7 separate regions of the Homo sapiens genome follow, and all the other regions are linked to region 7. The links are contacts of gene promoters, found by promoter capture Hi-C in blood cells and fetal thymus (Javierre and others, 2016). All regions are on one chromosome and are shown on one strand. Each heading gives the region's core, a stretch centred on a gene start or on the middle of the fragment in contact. The rest is flanking DNA. Distances are from core to core; before and after follow the strand shown. Region 1 overlaps ZFP91 (ZFP91 zinc finger protein, atypical E3 ubiquitin ligase). Region 2 has its middle 6.0 kb from the start of DTX4. Region 3 overlaps FAM111A (FAM111 trypsin like peptidase A). Region 4 has its middle 53 kb from the start of CNTF. Region 5 has its middle 19 kb from the start of CNTF. Region 6 overlaps ZFP91 (ZFP91 zinc finger protein, atypical E3 ubiquitin ligase). Region 7 holds the start of SSRP1 (structure specific recognition protein 1).

Region 1 (2,700 bases), core at 124-2,623, 1.3 Mb after region 7:
ATATACACACACACACACATACTGTAATGACTAATGTGTAGCACTGTTTTTAAGTAGTAGAAGAGTAGACAACTAAACATTCAAAGGGGGATTGGTTTCATAAGTTATATATTTGTGTGTATATATATCTTACATATATATCTCTCTCTTACATATGTACACAATTATTTGTGAAACCAATCCCTCTTTGAATGTTGTTTTCTACTCTTCTACTACTTAAAAACAGTGCTATATGTTAATCATTTATAAATATGATTGTAATTTTGTAGGATAAATTTCTAGTAGTTGAACATCATGTGGAAAGGTATATACATTTATAATTTTGATGTATATTGTCAAATTGGTCTGCATGGAGGTTTTGCTAATACATTATCATATGTGTGTTAGAGGACCTGTTTTCCCACAGTCTTGACAATACATTATGTTGTCAAATATGATCATCCCCAATATGATACATGAAAAATGGTGTCATGCTATCGTTTTCATTTGAGTCTCTTGTTCTGAGTGGATTGAGCTTTGAGCTTTTGTTTTTTGTTTTTTCTTTTTTTGGAATGGAGTCTTGCTCTTTCGCCGAGGCTGGAGTGCAGTGGCGCAGTCTCAGCTCACTGCAACCTCCACCTCCCGGGTTCAAGTGATTCTCCTGCCTCAGCCTCCCCAGTAGCTGGGATTGCAGTTAGGCACCACGACGCCTGGCTACCTTTTGTATTTTTGGTAGAGACGGGGTTTCACCACGTTGGCCAGGCTGGTCACAAACGCCTGACCTTTTGATCTGCCCGCCTTGGCCACTCAAAGTGCTGGGATTACAGGTGTGAGCCACTGAGCCCGGCCTGTTAGTTCCTATTTTTCTATTGGGTTATTAGACTTTGTTTATGGTTGATTTTTGCCATGAGGAAAATTGTTTTTATGTGTATCTTATGACCTGAAATTTTGTTTTATTATTGGGCCTTTCCCGTTCTGAGTTTATTAAAGAATCTTCTATTGTTAAAATGGGCTCAATTCTAATGTACTTTTTTTTTATATAGGTCTAAGTATTTAGCTACGCCAGGTATGAAAGCCAGTTTCTGAGATTAACTTTTTATTACTTACTACTCAAGAGAGGATGACCTACCGTACTTCACCCTTAAAACATGACAAAATATAGGATAACAATAACAGATTTGTGTGTGCTCCTGTACACAATGTCTTATAGGACAACTGAAACAGAATAGCACCAGAGCTGGACTTTACCATTCAATTGCTCTATAGATTAGTTCAAATTTATGGTGTGGTTCCAAGAAAAACTCTTGATTAGAGTGAAAAGTACTCCTGTTAGGAATTCCTCTTTAGTAATTTGTTATAGACTTGTTTGGTTGTAAATAACATCTAGATCTATGGTTCTTTCTTTTTGGTGCCTCTGTAGTTCTGGTCATCTTTTTGGGACTAATTAATTTAGTTTCTTTTAACTTAGATCTAAAAGGTAGAATTTCATGAATCCAGTTACTTAAGTGTATTTTGCATAGTTAGCATTGCATTTTTTAGAAGATAAGGCAGTATAAAATTACTACTTTGCAACATGAAGTAATTTCTTTAGCATGATGACATTAAGGATAAGTTTTATCTCATTTTCCTTTTTTTATTATTTCAATTAAAGTCTTCAGTTTTTTTTCCTTTGAAAATATTTAATTTATCTTCAACTGTATTTACAATTAGTAGATATACAGGGATGGTTATTGGTTAACTGTAAACTTAAAGAGAATGGTATGTCTTTTTATTTAGATCCCAAGGAAGAAAAAGAGGAAGAAGACGATTCTGCCCTCCCTCAGGAAGTTTCCATTGCTGCATCTAGACCTAGCCGGGGCTGGCGTAGTAGTAGGACATCTGTTTCTCGCCATCGTGATACAGAGAACACCCGAAGCTCTCGGTCCAAGACCGGTTCATTGCAGCTCATTTGCAAGTCAGAACCAAATACAGACCAACTTGATTATGGTACAGTGCAACTAGAATATGGCTGTTTACTAACTAGTTGCTGTTACATTTTAAATGTAATGTTGAACATTTGTGTTAACAGCTTAACTGTCAGGGGCAGGTTTGATGGTGTAGGTGGTATTTCTTTGAACAGTTTGCAGATATTCTGCTTTTGTATAATTACCCCATGCAGTAATTTGATTTGCATTTCTTGACTGCAGAGAGAAAATATCTTATATCTACACTAATAAAATTTTGTTTTTGGCTTTGTTTTTCTAGATGTTGGAGAAGAGCATCAGTCTCCAGGTGGCATTAGGTAAAAAAAACATTAATATTTCATTTTTAAACCTTTGGGGACATAGCATAGTCACAGTAAATGATTCAGAAGTTGCTTCCATTTGAAATTATTTTGAGCTGTAAGAGAAATTAACTTCAGTTTTGATACTGCATTTAGATTCCATGTTGAGCTTGATTAGAACTTAAACCATGTAATCTACTTACATAGCTTAGAAATCATGTCTTGAGTATCTTCTGTGTTTGGACTTATTCCATGGTAGGCACTAATGTGAAATATGGGTGTTTTGGCCAAGGTTTTGAGATTTTATTGGAATCTTTTGTGTTGTGATTTATCTGTTAGTAGGTCTTTTAATATAGCAGATCACCAGACAGTATTACAAAGTCAGTTGTTTCTTAACTTTTAATGCCATTGAGTTGTCATCACCCTGTCTTTATCTAGGATTTATGTCTTTTTAGTTT
Region 2 (2,700 bases), core at 110-2,609, 1.8 Mb after region 7:
GATCATATCAATTGATACCAAAAAAGCATTTAATAAAACTCAATATCTGTTCATGATTTAAAAAACTCTCAGAAAAATAAGGATAGAGGAAAACTTCCTCAACTTGATAAAGAACATCTAAAATGAACACCTACAGCTATTATCACAGTTCTTAGTGAAAAACTAGATGTTATCTAAGATCAGAAACAAGGCAAGAATGTCTATTCTCACAACTGTATTAAACATAGTACTGGAAATTCCAGGTAATACAATTCTAAGTAAGGCAAGAAAAGGAAATGAAAAACATAAGGATCGGCCGGGCGCGGTGGCTCACGCCTGTAATCCCAGCACTTTGGGAGGCCAAGGCGGGCGGATCACGAGGTCAGGAGATCAAGACCATTCTGGCTAACCCAGTGAAACCCCGTCTCTACTAAAAATACAAAAAATTAGCCAGGCGTGGTGGCGGGCGCCTGTAGTCCCAGGTACTCGGGAGGCTGAGGCAGGGGAATGGCGTGAACCTGGGAGGCGGAGCTTGCAGTGAGCCGAGATTGCGTCACTGCACTCCAGCCTGGGCGACAGAGCAAGACTCCGTCTCAAAAAAAAAAAGAAAGAAAGAAAAGAAAAGAAAAGAAAAGCATAAGGATCAGAAATGAAGAAACAAAATTGTCCCTATTTGGAGATGACATGTAAACTCCTAAGGAATCTATAAAAGAACTCTTAGACCCAGATTTGGACTCCTTAGCAAGCTTACAAGATACTAAATAAACATACAAAAATCCATTGTATTTATATGTACCAGCAATAAGTACGTGGAACCAAAATTAAAAATAGAATGCCATTTATTAATATAATCACTCTGAAACAAAATGAACTACTTAAGTGTACATTGAGCAAAAAATGAACTGGATAGGTATGCTGAAAACTAGAAAACACATAAAACAAAGAAGATCTAAATAAATAGAGAAGCATATCCATATCGTGTTTATGGATTGGAAGACTTAACACAGTAAAAATATGTCAATTCTCCTCAAATTGATATACAGCTTCAATGCAATTCCTATCAAAATCCCAGCAAGAATTTTTGCACATATAGACAAGATTATTCTAGTATTTATGTGGAAATCAAAGGATCCAGAATAGCCTAAACAATTTTGAAGAAGAATAAAGTGAGATGAATCAATCTACCCAATTTACAATAAGACATTACATAGCTTATTAATACAGCTTATTAATCAACATTGTGCAGTAGTGGTGAAGGGACAGACATATAGGTCAATGGAACAGACTAGAGAAACCAGAAATAGATCTACACAAATATGCCAGACTGATTTTTTTACAAAGACTCAAAAGCAATTCAAAGGAGGAAGAAAAGCCTTTTCAACAAATAGCGCTAGGACAATACATCTATAGGCAAATAAACACATAAAAAGACACTCAAACCTCACTCCATACACAAAAATTTAACTCAGAATGGATTGTAGATTTACATGGAAGTTGTAAAAGTATGAAAGTTTTAGAACAAAACAGAGGAAAAAAATATTCAAATCTTAGGACTAGCCAAAGAGTTCTTAAAATTAACATGGGAAACAGAAGCCATTTAGAAAAAAAAAATTTGGTAAGTTGTATTTTATCAAATTAAAAAACTTTTGTTTTGTGAAAGACGCTATGAAGAGCATGGAAAACATAAGCTACAGATTGAGAAAAAATATTTTCAAACTATATATCCACCAAGAGTATTTATTTATTTATTTATTTGAGACTAGGATTCACTCTGTTGCCCAGGCTGGAGTGCAACATCACCATCACAGCTCACTGCAGCCTCAACCTCCCAGACTCAAGCGATCCTCCCACCTCAGCCTCACAAGTAGGTGAAACCACAAGCCTGCACCACCGCGGCCAGCTAATTTTTGTATTTTTTGTAGAGACAGGGTTTCCCCATGTTGCCCATGCTGATCTCCAGCTCTTGAGCTCAGGCAATCGAACTCCTGACTGGGCTTCCCAAAGTGCTAGGATTACAAGCTTGAGCCACTGTGCCCAGCCCAATATTTAGAATATAAAAAGAACTCTCTAATTTCAATAATAGAAAACAGAAACCAGCAAAAGACCTGAACAGATATCAAAGAGCATATATGGCAAATAAACGCATGGAAAGATGTTCAACATTATTAGTCAATAAGGAAACAAGTTAAAAACAATGAAATAACTCTACACACTTACCAAAATGGCTAAAATAAAATATACTGACCAAAAAATGATGGTGAAGATGTAGTGACCAGATCATGGGTATATTGCTGGTGAAAATTCAAAATGGTGCAGCCACTTTAGAAAACTGGCAGTTTGTTAAAAAAGCTAAACATGCAACTACCCTATGACCTTGCCATTGTACTCCTAGGCATTTATCACAGAGAAATGGATACTTTACCTTCACACAAAAACCTGGATGAGAGTGTTCATAGTAGCTTTATTCATAATAGCCCAAACTAGAAACAACTTATATGAACTTCCATGGATGAACAGTAAGGTGGTCCATGGATACTATGGAACACTACTTAGCAATAAAAAGAAACAAACTTCTCTTGATACACACAACTTGGATGAATCTTTAGAGAATTAAGCTGAGTGGAAAAAGCCTATCTTAAAAGATTGAATGCTCTATGATCCATTTGCATAATATTCTTGAAATGACAAAATCATAAATATGGAGAACATATTAGTTATTGC
Region 3 (2,700 bases), core at 144-2,643, 1.8 Mb after region 7:
TTTCCTAGGTTCTCTGCTGTTTAAAAAGTATCCCTGTGGTGAGTGTATTGATATTGATAACATTTACATGACCTTTTTATTGATTATTTACTGGGGGACCTATTACATACAGGCAGTGTTTTAAAGGCTTTGCATATGCTCTCTCTCTCTCTCTATATATATATATATTTACACACACTGTATATATAGATAGATTGCATATATAATATATATAATATGTGTGTGTATGTGTGTATATATATATTGTGTGTGTGTGTGTGACAGAGAGAGAGAGAGAGAGATGAAGTCTCGCTCTGTTGCTCAGGCCTCAGGCTGGAGGGCAGTGGTGTGATCTCGGATCACTGCAACCTCTGCCTCCCAGGTACAAGCCACTCTCCTGCCTCAGTCTCCCAAGTAGCTGGGATTACAGGCACCCACCACCATGCCCAGCTAATTTTTAATTCTTAGTAGAGACAGGTTTTCACCAGGTTGGCCAAGCTGGCCTCGAACTCCTGACTTCAAGTGATCCATCAGCGTTGGCCTCCCAAAGTGCTGAGATTACAGGCATGAGCTACCGCACCCAGACCACAATATATTTCTTAATCTTTATAACAAGGTTGATTCCCACCTTAAGGTGAGGAAAATGAAGGAAGAATAGTTAATTAATATGCCCAAGGTCATGCAGCTAGTAAGTGGCTACCTGATATTTGAACTCAGACAGTTTTATAAGTTCTAACATTATTTTAGCACTTCCATATTCATTATCTCATTTAGAATCATTGCTTCTTTTTACAAACAAGAAATTGAGGCTCAGAAAGGCTAAATGAATTTCCCTAGTCAATGACTGACAGTAAACTAGAAAGCCAGGACTCTTGTTCCATAGTGGAATGGTTACGAGAGTAAACATAGCCTTTAGATAACTTCCATTTGACAAGAAATACAGGGGCTAGAACATAAGTTAAACAATGACATGAGGAAACAACCCAGGAGGTGAACATTCTATAGAGACAATTTCTCTGTTCTCTTCAACAAATCAGTGCTTTTTCTAGAATAAAAGAGCCTTATAAGACATATAAAGGAAACTGTGTACCTCAGTTGGATCTTGGTATGAATAAATCAGTATTGTGATTATAAAAGAAAAATTATGTAATTTTTAGAGATGGGAAGTGACCATTAGCGTTTAAATGTCATGATGTTTCTAGCTGTAACATAAATCATCTAGTAAAATAAAAGGATGGTGTAAGGGTAGCCAAACCCGGGTTTGGCAACTCACACCTCAAAGCCAAACATGAGAGATGAGAGTTGGTGGGAGGAAAAGCAGGTTCATTCAGAGAGCCAGCAAACTGAGAAGATGGCAGACTAGCAACCCAAAGTAGCCTCTTAAGTGAGTACAAGTTTCAGGCTCTTTATGTTAAGGGCATGGGGAAGAGAAGGGATTTACGATCAAGAGGTGACCATTGACTGGAGACATCTGAGCACCATCAAGGATCCAAGAAGGTTGGGAATGTCTTTGTCCTGATGTTCCAGTGAGCCCAAGCATTGATTTGCTGAAGAGAACAGATAAGTTGTCTCTATAGAATGTTAATTTCCTGGGCTGCTTCTACATGTTGTTGTTTAGCTTATGTTCTAGCCCCTGTATTTCTTGTCAAATGGAAGTTATCTAAAGATTATATTTATATTTGTTCTCCAGGTCACAACCCTCCTGTAAATTTTTAACAATCCATAGTTGTTTACATACTTTCCCTTTAATCCCAGAGCTAGTTTTTAAAACTACATTTTTTTTGCATATTATCTCACTGCTCTAAAATTAACCTCCCCTCCATGCATGAATGGATAAAGACCCCGTGAACAAAAATAGAGTTCTTTATGTTAGTTCTTTTACTGTTTCACTGTTACATAAATTGGCAAAAAAATGAACAATTAACTATGTGATAGGTATGTAGAAGTTCATTATACCATTCTCTCATTTTTTCTCTAATAAATTGTTCATAATAAAAAGTCCTGAAAGTATATTCTCTGAGTTTTATGACCTTGAGTAAAAGTTTAATCTCCCTGGGTGTTCAAGCTCTTTTGCCAGTAAAATGAGACAAATAGTACCTATCTCATAGGGTTGTAAGAATTACATGAGATAGTTGATGAAAAGCACTTAGAACAGGGCATAGTACACCATATGCCTACTCCATTCGTTTATTGAATGTATCTTTAGAAATGTATCTTTTTCAAGGGCCTGACATGTCTCAGACATTGTTTTGAAATATTGAGGTACTAAGGACAGACATGGCTGCTGCCCTCAATGGTATTTATCTTTCTAGCGGTATTTATTACTATTGAAGATGTCACTATTTTATTTAAAGTTTGTTCATCCTCTTCTAGGGAGACATCAGAGGAGAGATAGAAGGAAAAATACCTCTTTAAACAAAAAATCTAAAGCAGCAACTAAGGTTTCTGACTATCATCCCTAGCAAACTTTCCAGATTTCTTTTTAAAATCTCATTCCAAGTTTCTTTCCTCAGCTCTATCCTCACCACTTCCCTGTAATTTTATCTCCCCTTGCCATCTTCATCTTAAATGAATAACAGATTTTAACATCAATGTAACTAGAACAGCTTTTTGAAATTTCCAACTGAAAATTATTCTATTATTTATACTTGCATTTGAATTCCATCTCTGCCACATAGCTCTGGCCTTGGGCAGTTCGTCTACCTTCTCTAAGCTATACTT
Region 4 (2,700 bases), core at 199-2,698, 1.3 Mb after region 7:
AGCATTGCCAAAAAACACTACAGTTGGAAGATTTCCCAGCTGACCCTGACAGAGTGCCGGTTGCCAGCCTACTGAGACAGCCAAGTAAAAAGGGTTCCCCGGCAGGACTTCCGACTGGCCTGCGCACTGGGAGGAGTGCGCACTCGGGTGAAGCCTTGAGGAATTTCCTGTTGGTTTGCAGTGAGGAGGAGCCTGGCTTCTCCTGTTCCGGGTGGTAACCCGGTGATTCCAGTCTATGAGGTGGGAAGCCCACTGGCAGGACTCTCGCTTTGCTGAGAGTCCCTGTTTCCCCATTTTTCCTTTTCACCCAATAAACCCTGTCCTTCTCACCCTGCAGAGTGTCCGCAAGCCTAACTTTTCATGGTTGTGCGAGAAGAACCTGGCTTTTAGCCGAACTAAGGAGAAAGTCCTACAACACTACAACACTCTTCCCTACCTTGCCTGGCTCCGTCCTCTACCATGCTGTCCTGCCATAAGTCAGATTGGACAGAGGACGGGTCTTATAAACATTCCTTATTGATCAATAGCTGCAGACCTTAAGCCAGTTTCAGTCAGCTTGTGGACATTGTTCAAAAATTGTCTGTATGTCCTGTAGTTTACCTTTTGATGTAAAGGGCCGAATTCCACTTCATTTTAATGTTAAATCCTACCAAAATGTGAATATGGGATGTATGTTCCATATATGTTTTCCACTGTGCAATGCCTGACTTCCCTCATGCATATTTGCATTTTTTCCCCACCCTGCTAGTATGTATGTAAGGCTGAGTGTGCGACCCAGATACCAAATAGCAGCCCTCCTCCGTTCTGCGCAAAGTGCACTTTCCCTCTCCCCAGGGCAGCGTTTCCTAGATCCGTGGATTGTTTTGCCTTCTGCAAATAAAGTCTCCTCTTTTCCTTCATCCGTGAATTTCACAATCTTTGTGAATAGATACATACTATGCATGAGGCTAAAATCACCTGAAATCTCAACAACTTAAACTCAGAGGCACTCATCATCTTTCAGCGTTCTCAGGGAGGGATCCTGGTTCTGCAGCCTTGGCTACCTCTGCTGCCCTCTGCTGGCGGAGCGGAGTCCGCAAAGTCCAGAGCAAGGGACTGCCCTGGGATCTCCAGGCACACTTTGTCCTGAACGTTGTCAAGGGCTTTCTCCAAAGCCATATAGGTAATACAAATTCAAATCATCCAGCAAACCAGTGCCAGGATACCTATGAGGCTATGGAAGTGTTATTCACGCAGGCATACATTCAGGAAATGTCATCTCCATCATTCCAATTTCCTAGACCTTGTTGTCATTCTTGAACTACTTTCTCTCCCTTAGTCCAGGTCTTCTGAAACTCCTGGACTGGATTAGATGTGCAGGAGATTTATTAGGAGACTGTGAAGCAAAAAGAAAGGGAGCTGGGGGAGGCTGGGAGAGCTGTCAGTCTGCAATCTAAGTCTACTTTAAGTCTCCCTCGTGGAGAGAAAAAAAGAGGAGGTATTAGGCCCACGGGGTTCTTGGGTGAAAATTGCCCCATCAGAAGAGTCCCCTGTCTTCCTGCTGTGCTGTTACAGGCAGGAGAAGCCCGTGAGAAGCATGAAATCAGAAGTAAGAAGGGTGGATTTCAAAGCCAGCTACTAGGGTCACTGGTCAATGATATTACTGACAGAAGGAGGTCTGAGGCGTGAATTTTCGTGGCCTCCACACCGCACGTTCAATCAGTCAGCAAATCCTTTTGGCATTACCTTTAAAGTGTCCTACCACTTCTCAACATTTCCACCATTCCCACTCTGGTCCAACCCTTCACTGTCTCCTTGCTTCCACCTTTGCCTTTCCACAATCTCATCTCAATACAGCCCCTCAGTCATGGATGTCTGTCTCTTGCTCAAAGCCCTGCTCAGAAAAATAGCCACAGTCTTCACCATGGCCCACAAGACCCTACACGTGATTACCCCTTGTATCTTTTTGCCCTTATCTCCCTCAACTCTTCCCTTTCCCACACTGGCCTCCTTACTGCTTGCTCTGTTTTCAACACCCATGAATCTATCTATCTATCTATCTATCTATCTATCTATCTATCTATCTATCTATCATCTATCTATTATCTATCTATCTATATCTTCTATTTACCTATCTCTATCTATCTATCATCTATCTCCTATCTATCTACCTATCTATCATCTATATCTCTATCTTCTATTTACCTATCTTATCTATCTATCTATCTATCTATCATCTATCATCTATCTATCTATCTATTCTGTGTTTTTAGACACAGGGTCTCACTCTGTCACCCAGCTGGAGTGCAGTGGAAAGATCACAGCTCACTGCAGCTTCTGGGCTCAAGTGATCCTCCTGCCTACCTCCCATGTAGCTAGGACTACAGGCAAATGCCACCTCTCCTGACTTCTTTTTTATAACAGGGGGTACATGTGCAGCTTTGTTACATAGATATATTGTGTATTGCTGAGGTTTGGGCTTCCATCAAACCCATCAACACCTGTAATACACGAGTGAAAGTTGTGTTTGAAAGGCAAGAAGAGAAGGACCAGCTCAAAATCAACAGATGTACAAGTTGGAACAAATTTCACTCAGGGCTGTTATTTATCAGAGCTAGTTTATGCATAACTTGGCGGGTTGACCCTTGACTCCATTTTGATTTTTGCTAAGCATTTTTCAAGTAGGAGCACTGCCAGCTGAACTATTAGGCAGTTGAAGAA
Region 5 (2,700 bases), core at 94-2,593, 1.3 Mb after region 7:
GAGTCAGATGCCAAGTCCTCATGTGACCTTAGAAAAGAAGTGTGACTTCCTGTAAAACAGGAACAAACAGGACTTTTTAGCTGTTAACTTAAAAAAATTACAACACATGCTTGTTATGGAAAATTAAAAGTGTAAAGAGGTTATATAAGGTAAAAAATACCTTCTTCATCCAGCTGTGCTTCCCAGAGATAACCACTGTAAATAGGAGGTGTGTCACCTTCCAGACATGTTTCTATGTGTGCACACATGGACCCAGGCACATAGGCACATACTACTTTCTTTTACAAAAATATAATAGTGCCAGGCCATATATACTTTTGCCTATGGAGAAGCTGATTCCCAGAGAAAAGAAGTGATGTGCACAAGGTCACACAAAGACAGATTGGAGCAGAGATGGCCCTGACCCTGTGTCTCTTGCCTGTATTTCCAGACTCAGACCGCCTCCTACCCTGCCTCACTCTCTTGGGCTGTGTGCATTCTAATTGAGCACCATAGGGGATACAAATGCAGACAATTATTCTGGCAGATAGTCAAGGGCAATAGTCAAAATATTTACTACTCTGCAAGTTGCAGCCCCAGCCAATCAGAACTAACATTGGCTGCAAATGACCTTCCTGAGGTTACTGGCTAAATATTGGCCCTGCATGTAGGAGTCTCATTTCACACCCTACATATCTCTCCACGGATGGCTGGGAAGGAATCCATGAATGAATAAATGAGGATGCAAAGTGATCTGAAATAATATCGCAAAGGAAGAAAAACTTCTTTCAATAGAAGTGTAATGTTATCAACTGCAGTGTTATCTGCCTATATATTTTTACAATCAGAGCCCTGTGAAAGGAGAAGAGGCAATAATAGAAAATGAAGGAAATAGAAAGGAGATGTTTATTGGAGTTCAACAGAACTGGACTCGAGATATGGCTCTGCGCTTAGTGGCTCTCAGACCCTGGGCAAGTGACTTAATCTCCTTGACTTTTTTTTTTTTTTTCCTGTAAACATCTGTGAATGTGAGGAGGAGAGGCACAAAAAGTAACTTAACCATGATTATACTAATTAAGGGACAGATAGGCTGAGGGGTCTGAGGGACTTTTAGTCTAGTGGGCTTATAATTTAATGTCAGGGGTAGCCCAGGGATCCTGAATTTTGCCAACAGAAAAATCATGAGATCTATGCAGATTTGGACACAGGACTTTATTTCTCATAAAGGGTTATAGCCTGCCAATGGTCATCCTGACAGGCTGAGAAGTGTACCTTCAACAGAGACCGAAAGGCAGTACTTTGAAGAAGGAGGGGTTGAGGCAGGAGCTTTATGCTACATAGGTTGGCTAAATATACATATTCAACAGGTTACAGGAGAAGCTATGAATATTCACCAAGTGGTTTCTGATGCATGCATACTGAATAAACATGCATGCTACAAATGATCTATGTTCATATTGGAGAGGGTACTTAACATTTAAATTTATTACAATGAGGCTGTCTATATTTCAGAAGATAAAACAGGGACATAAATGTTCTCAAGTGCAAAGCCTCTATAAAACCGACCAGAACCAGTCCATAGTCGGTGGTCTTTTACCAGGAAAGTTACTGAAATCTCTTTCTTGTCTAATCAAAGCTGTAGTTATGGCTTGTGGAACAGGAGGTCGGTTAGTCAGCACATGGTGGTGAATGAGCTGCAGTTATTTTAATATTGCTTTCCTTGAGGCCAGTGCTTGTTGAGCTGCTTAAGAAAGAAAAACCTTGTGGCAGTTAAAACAAAGTTTATTCTTTAAGTGTAGGGGTGCGTGACTTAACCTTTGCCTGACATGGGCGTAGGTCCTGTTTATAATTGGATATCTTACTGCCACAAAGAGTCTGTTCTGTCAGTCATATGATCTCTATTTTAACATTCATGCTGGTCAGTTGGTGTGTCTGTATACAAAAGGGAGAGGATATAACGAGGCTTGTGTGATCTCTTGTCTCCTTATGGCCAGGAACTCCATTTTTAAGGTTTCTCTGAGGTCTCCTTGGCCAAGAGAGAGTCTGTTCAATTGGTTGGGGTGGGTGCTTAAGGTTTAAATTTTAGTTCTCAATCCCATATAGGGTCTTGAGACCTTTCTCATCCTCGATTCAATCTGAGGGCAATTCTGAGTTAAATCTCCAAATAACTTCTATTCTCTCCTTGTGCACCTCATCTCTACCCCAACATACACAGGAGAAGATCACCTGAACAATAAACTTGTAGGTTTAAAGAAACTACTAGGCACCTGGCAATCCCTTGCTTCCTGCAGTCTTCCTGTCTTTCTTGAGATACTTTTTCTTAAGGATTTCTCATGGGTCTGCCTCACTTGACAATGGATATATATACTCTCAGTATTTAGCGTGGAGAAGACCCAGACTCATGAAAGAGATGCAGAGAACTAGCAGGGAGAGACAGAGACAGAGACAGAGAAAAGCCATGACTAGCATCACTAAATTAACCATGTCCTCGAGACTCATAATTCATACCATCGTTATATGTTCTCTAGGTAATTTCTGCAACCTTCCAACAAGTATTCCCATCTCCTGAAGGACAGCTGGGATCATGGCAAACTCTGAGACAAAAACCTGCAGTGGCTCGTTGTTTATAGCATTGGCTCCCAATTAAGCCTGTTAAAAATAGAGGTTTTGGGTTTCAATGTATGGAACTTTAGAAGACGAGTTCTGAGAACTAAAACTATC
Region 6 (2,700 bases), core at 182-2,681, 1.3 Mb after region 7:
AATACAGAAGACACATTTTTATGCTTTTTTTCCCATTCCAGTGAGAAAAATCTAACTTGTAATTCTTACCATTTGAGTTTGTGTACAAAAGGAAGAATCGAGAAGATACTGAGAACATTGTCTTCACAATTCTTTCTTGAAAGATTTTGAATCTCCTTGCTAATGACCTAGTTTTCCCAGTCAAAATAAAATCTTTTAGGTTTTGAATAGAAAAAGAGTTCTGGAAGGAAAATCTGTAGGTGAGAAAGGGCGTGTATAAGCCCAGTCTTAACACTCAGATAGGCTTTTAAGGTTTTTTTTGTTTGTTTTTGAGACAGGGTCTCATTTTATTGCCCAGGCTGGAGTGCAGTGGTGTGATCATGGCCCACTGCAGTGTTGATCTCCTGGGCTCAAGCCATCCTCCTGCCTCAGCTTCCCAAGTAGCTGGGACTACAGAAGTGTGCCGCCATTTCCAGCTAATTGTTTTTGATTTTTTTGTAGAGACAGGGTCTCACTGTGTTGCCTAGCCTGGTCTGGCTAGGCAGTCCTCTTGCCTCGGCCTCCCAAAGTGCTGGAATTTATAGGCATAAGCCACTACACCCAGCCTGTTAGTTTTAACTGAAATATTCCCCTTTACCAATTAAATGATACTGTTCTAAATTTAAATGTAAGTTAAAAACAACAACAACAACAAAAGCCTCTTTCCCTGGCTTCTCTTAATACTACTGAGATTGGCTAATATTTCAAAGCAAACTTTAATTATTTATGGAAAACAAAGTGCAGCTAGTGATAGAAATACACAGAGTAGTTCAGTTAGGTTTCAGAAACTCAAGTTTCTGACAATATAATGTTCAAGCCTCAAAGGCTAAATACAGTAGATAGACATTTTTGTTTGTCCTTCCTTCCTAATCTTTTATCTTAAGGTAGCAGTAACTGTATTATTTCTCTTAGTATGAGAATAATTTACTCAGACATCTTGTTCCATGTTGGGTATGGCCCAGATCCTTTAATCCGTATTGCTAGTTCAGACATCCAAACCTCCTTTGGTTCTTTTCCATTATTAATTTCCTACAAATAAAGATATATGTCACTTATAATATGTGAATTGTGATGTAGGCTTAAAAAGCCTTGATCATCAGCTTATTTCAGTTATGGGATTACCTATCAGGTAAATGAGTCTTAACTTTATAATAATTTGCCTATTACAGCTCAACTTATTGCCATCTTCGACACAGTTATAAGTTTATTCTGCTATATATATTATTTTACATTGAGATCCCTTTTCCTGCCAAGACCACTTGAGAGTTAAAGCAGAATGCCCTGATAGAAGAAAACTGAAGCAGAGGAAACTTAAAATCCTTAGTGGGGAAAGCCATATTCAGCCAGTACAAATCCAAAACCTTTAAGAGAGACTTGCTTGTATCTTCATTTTGAAATGAGCCTTAGTGGATAAGAATCTGTGACAAAAAGTAATATTGCCCCTTGACTGTTAAGTTCAAGAAAGAAGAAATTCCTCTGAATTAAAACCAGCCTGAATAATCTAATGCTATCCGGGCAAAGGCTTCTTTAGCTTCATAACAAACCATCTAAAAATTTAGTGGCTTAAAACACAGCAATTTATTATTTACTGGTTGGGCCATTCCCCCCTCCTCATTGGTCATTCAGTTCAGACTTGTTTTATATTATGGTGGTTGTGGCGCAGTGTTCCAAAATCCTGAAGGCAGTAACTGCAAGGTGTCTTGAAACCACCCCCACAGTATAATCAATCAGTTGTATTTCTGTATATCAGCAACAAAAAATAGAAAATCGAAGTCATAAAATCAAAATAAAATTTATATTAGTATTTACAACCCTATAAGCAAGATATACTGCTCCATTTACTTAGGTTTTTAATTTTACTCAGCAATGTTTTGTACTTTTCAGTGTATAGGTCTTTCAAATTTTTTATCCCATATATCCCTGAGTATTTCATATTTTTTGATGCTGTTAGCTTAGCTTAATTGGGATTCCCACTGTGTTTAAGAGTGGGATTGATTCTTTAAGAAAGAAGAGGTGCCTAGATGCTTTGTGGATATCCAGTCATGGCTACTGTACATTTATATTCTATTATTTAACCGTTACCTAACTGAAGGGCATTTGATATTTCTGGGTTTTTTTTTTTTCCTGAGATTACAGGTGATTTTTAGAGAAATCCTATTAAAATGTACCATACGTATACAGAAATGCACATATTATAAGACATATACATGTACTCTTGTTTCTCCTCCCCCTTCTTTATTTTATAAGTGGGTGGACCCAGGGTGAGCCCAATCATGTAACCATTTACACAACTGAAGAAATAAAACATAATTGTTTTGGAAACTCCCTTATGCTCCTTCAAGTCAACCGCCCCCAAGTGTAACCACTATTTTGACTTTAGCAGAAATTAGATTTGCCAATTTTTGAATTTTACATAAATGGGATAATACAGTAGGCACTCTTTTGTGTCTCGCTTATTTTGCTCATCATTTGTGACAAATGCTGTGTTTGTCATAGATCGTTTATTTTAGTTGTTGTATAGTGTCCCATTGTGGGAATATAACCACAGTTTAACTGTTTTACTGTTGATGGATGTTTGGGCAGTTTTCAGTTATTAGTCTTTATGACTAGTACTGTGATGTATATTTTTGAAATATAGTGTTATTGGGATGTAATTTATACATCATAAAATTCACCCATTTC
Region 7 (2,700 bases), core at 22-2,521:
GACGGCTCAACCTCAGTCGACCATCATTCTGTAAGAAAAGCAGGCCCAGATGCATGGAGACAGTACACAGCATGTCCTGGGTTCTACAGCTCTACCTAACACACATTCCTGCTGCAAGTGGACTGGCCAGATTATCAATGCAGGAGCAACAGCTGAGGGTGCCAAGGAGTCTAGATTCTAAACCAGACTCTGGTATCTAGAACCCTTAACAGATTCTCAGTTTCCTCATTTGTAAAACAGGAATTGGGAACTGAACAGCATATACGGTCCCTATAACTCTGAGACTATCTCTCAGTATTGCCTTGAGTTGGTGGAGACACTAGGTACACATTATACTGAGTCTTCTTTTTCCAAAATAACGTTACCAAAGCAAGCTCTCATTAATGGACAAAAACTCTACCCTCCTTCCTTCTCTCTACTTGTATCACCTGTCCAAGCCATTCTCACCATGGAACCTTTCACCTCCTGATAGACGTCGTTGAACTCCAGTGTCTCTGCCATGTCGACCCCTGCCTGTGGTGGCCTGGGCAGAGCCCCAGGCTGCACAAGGGAAACCAAGTAAACTGGGAGCTGGGCCCCAACTCCTGAGTGGGTGTGCGGATGCTCAGCAGGTTGGGAATCTGAATTCAAGAGGAAGACAGATAAGCATGAAAGACAGCACCTCGCTGTGCTCACGGATGGAGCCAGGTAGCAACTCCCAGCTGCGCCTGGATGTCTCAGGATTTCCTCTGCCTGGAAACCTACAGACGGACGCTGCAGTGCCCGAGGGTCCAGGTCCAGGCCTGGGTGGAGAACCGGGCCCGGAATACCGCTGACACCCAACCCGACGCCCGCTCTGGCCGCTCCGGCGGGAGCCATGGCAACGAGCAGCGGAACCCCAGGGTCTGCCAGGAGCCCGCACATCGCACGCGACCCAATCCAGCTCAGAGTGCAGGGTTTCCCTCGCACCGCTCCCACCACCCCGCGGCCCCAGACCCACGGTTCACCCCCGCCCCACATAATGGATTCGCCCGCTCCCCGCGGTTGCGAACGCGGAATGGTCCATGTCGAGGGTCCCGTGGGGGAGCGGGGCCCCTGCCTTCCTGGGACCGGGGACGACCACCACCTACCTCCTCAGGCTGCGGCCTCGCGAGGGCCCCGGCGCGAGAGGTGGGCGCGCTGGGGGGACGCGGGGGGGGCGCGGGGAGGGGGATGGGGGGACACCGGGGAAGCTTTTCCCGCGTGCGCGGCCCCGCGTCCCGCCACCGGAAGCCGTACACAGGCCACAGAGAGGATGAGCTGGCTAGAGAGACGCGAGTCGGGCCCGCCTGCGAGACAGTCGCATAGAGCGTCAGCGACTCTGGAGGACCTGAGGGAAGGGTGGTTGCCGTGAAGCCTCTCTCACCCAGGGGGAATCCGGCCTAGAAAATGTGTGTAGGGCTCTTTAGAAACTACAGACACTTCTTCAGTCGAGACTAGATACTAAAGAGAAATTGTGTAGTTTTATTGTATCAGACTTAGTACAGGGGTGGGGTGGGGGTGTGTATTGGAATGATGCGTGCCCGTTTCTCTGCAAAATAGTTTCTATGTCATGGAAAGGAGTCGATGGGACAAGAAGAGAAGTATTTGAACAGTTGTGGGAGGAAACGACCTCTCCCACTGGCTGCGGAGAGTATGCGGGTGTTGGTGTCATCGTGGGTGCACTGCTTTCTGGCTGAACTGTCAAGTTCACTGTCTACACCCAAAATTTTCACATCCTTAACCGAAAATTATAGGTACCTCCAAGAGGCTGGCAAACGGCCTTATCCAGTTCAAGTCCTGGTGTCAGATTCACCTTGGAGCCAGAACTGATTTGAAACCACATCATCCTGTGGTTGCGGAAGCCAGGTCTCCCCCGTATAATCCCAGAGTGCATTTTGCAACATCAGAGACCAGACCTGGAAAAGATGTTTTAGTTTTTCTACCCCAACCTCCTTTTACTGATGGGAAAACTGAGACCCAAAGGGGAGTGAGTTGCCCAGGGTCTCAGTGCGTTGGCAACAAGGCTAGGTAGGACCCAGACCTCCTTAACACCACCAGTCCAGTTATCTTCTGTCATAATCACAGTGACTGTATGTTCAGAATGACTATTGATATGTGTCCTACATGAAGACATTAGTACAGAATATGTAAGCTCAAGATTTCCCTGACAATCAATACACCAGCTTGCTAAATCAATCCTGGGGTAAGAGACAACAGGAATGCACCCTTCTCCCCTGAACTCATAGCTTTAACCTCTGAGTAGTGGCTATTCCAGCATTATCTAGCAAAATAAATTCAACTGGGTTTAATAAATAGATATTGAGGGCCTATTACTACTTTAGCACACTTCTCAGATTTGAGGAAACTTGAACAAGGTGAAAACATCCCCGGCCAGGCACGGTGGCTCACACCTGTAATCCTAGCACTTGGGGAGGCCAAGGCAGGGAGATCACTTGAGGTCAGGAGTTTGAGACCAGACTGGCCAACGTGGTGAAGCCCCGTCTCTATTAAAAATACAAAAATTAGCCAGGCGTGGTGGCGGGTGCCTATAATCCCAGCTACTCAGGAGGCTGAGGCATGAGAATTGCTTGAACCCAGGAGGCAGAGGTTGCAGTGAGCTGAGATTGTGCCACTGCACTCCAGCCCGGGTGACAGAGCGAGACTCTGTCAAAAAAAAAAAAAAAAAGAAAGAAAGAAAAA

What was found. The method cuts DNA at HindIII sites, captures the fragments that hold promoters and counts their contacts. A CHiCAGO score of 5 or more calls a contact.
Region 1: a contact is called between a fragment that was not itself captured here and the fragment with the promoter of SSRP1 in region 7, in 5 of 17 cell types (naive CD8 T cells, total CD4 T cells, activated CD4 T cells and 2 more). The highest score is 8.2, in naive CD8 T cells.
Region 2: a contact is called between a fragment that was not itself captured here and the fragment with the promoter of SSRP1 in region 7, in 1 of 17 cell types (non-activated CD4 T cells). The highest score is 5.6, in non-activated CD4 T cells.
Region 3: a contact is called between a fragment that was not itself captured here and the fragment with the promoter of SSRP1 in region 7, in 4 of 17 cell types (total CD8 T cells, non-activated CD4 T cells, fetal thymus and 1 more). The highest score is 8.2, in total CD8 T cells.
Region 4: a fragment that was not itself captured here is called in contact with the fragment with the promoter of SSRP1 in region 7 in 4 of 17 cell types (activated CD4 T cells, total CD4 T cells, naive CD8 T cells and 1 more); the score reaches 5.5 in activated CD4 T cells.
Region 5: a contact is called between a fragment that was not itself captured here and the fragment with the promoter of SSRP1 in region 7, in 6 of 17 cell types (non-activated CD4 T cells, naive CD4 T cells, total CD4 T cells and 3 more). The highest score is 9.9, in non-activated CD4 T cells.
Region 6: a contact is called between a fragment that was not itself captured here and the fragment with the promoter of SSRP1 in region 7, in 5 of 17 cell types (naive CD4 T cells, fetal thymus, total CD4 T cells and 2 more). The highest score is 9.0, in naive CD4 T cells.

Annotation. Positions count from the first base shown.
Region 1 is chr11:58,608,075-58,610,774 of GRCh38, forward strand. ZFP91 (ZFP91 zinc finger protein, atypical E3 ubiquitin ligase) reads left to right here. Exons shown (of 11, transcript NM_053023.5): 3 at 1,756-1,965; 4 at 2,224-2,260. It overlaps ZFP91-CNTF (ZFP91-CNTF readthrough (NMD candidate)), which reads left to right. Exons shown (of 13, transcript NR_024091.1): 3 at 1,756-1,965; 4 at 2,224-2,260. Among named protein-coding and RNA genes, the nearest start is that of CNTF, 13 kb to the right of the region's middle. The HindIII fragment of the contact is 4,165 bases long and covers 1-2,700 here.
Region 2 is chr11:59,164,794-59,167,493 of GRCh38, forward strand. No RefSeq gene overlaps it. Among named protein-coding and RNA genes, the nearest start is that of DTX4, 6.0 kb to the right of the region's middle. The HindIII fragment of the contact is 1,273 bases long and covers 724-1,996 here.
Region 3 is chr11:59,145,819-59,148,518 of GRCh38, forward strand. FAM111A (FAM111 trypsin like peptidase A) reads left to right here. Exons shown (of 6, transcript NM_001312909.2): 4 at 9-38. Among named protein-coding and RNA genes, the nearest start is that of FAM111A, 4.3 kb to the left of the region's middle. The HindIII fragment of the contact is 5,528 bases long and covers 1-2,700 here.
Region 4 is chr11:58,674,687-58,677,386 of GRCh38, forward strand. No RefSeq gene overlaps it. Among named protein-coding and RNA genes, the nearest start is that of CNTF, 53 kb to the left of the region's middle. The HindIII fragment of the contact is 5,613 bases long and covers 1-2,700 here.
Region 5 is chr11:58,640,628-58,643,327 of GRCh38, forward strand. No RefSeq gene overlaps it. Among named protein-coding and RNA genes, the nearest start is that of CNTF, 19 kb to the left of the region's middle. The HindIII fragment of the contact is 4,055 bases long and covers 1-2,700 here.
Region 6 is chr11:58,588,780-58,591,479 of GRCh38, forward strand. All of the region lies in intron 2 of ZFP91 (ZFP91 zinc finger protein, atypical E3 ubiquitin ligase), which reads left to right. All of the region lies in intron 2 of ZFP91-CNTF (ZFP91-CNTF readthrough (NMD candidate)), which reads left to right. Among named protein-coding and RNA genes, the nearest start is that of ZFP91-CNTF, 11 kb to the left of the region's middle. The HindIII fragment of the contact is 5,379 bases long and covers 1-2,700 here.
Region 7 is chr11:57,334,621-57,337,320 of GRCh38, forward strand. It overlaps SSRP1 (structure specific recognition protein 1), which reads right to left and starts at 1,272. Exons shown (of 17, transcript NM_003146.3): 1 at 1,110-1,272; 2 at 448-620; 3 at 1-28. The coding sequence starts at 501. It also overlaps a transcript of P2RX3 not described here. RefSeq lists enhancers at 441-510, 1,361-1,410 and a silencer at 1,011-1,190. The HindIII fragment of the contact is 4,158 bases long and covers 1,210-2,700 here.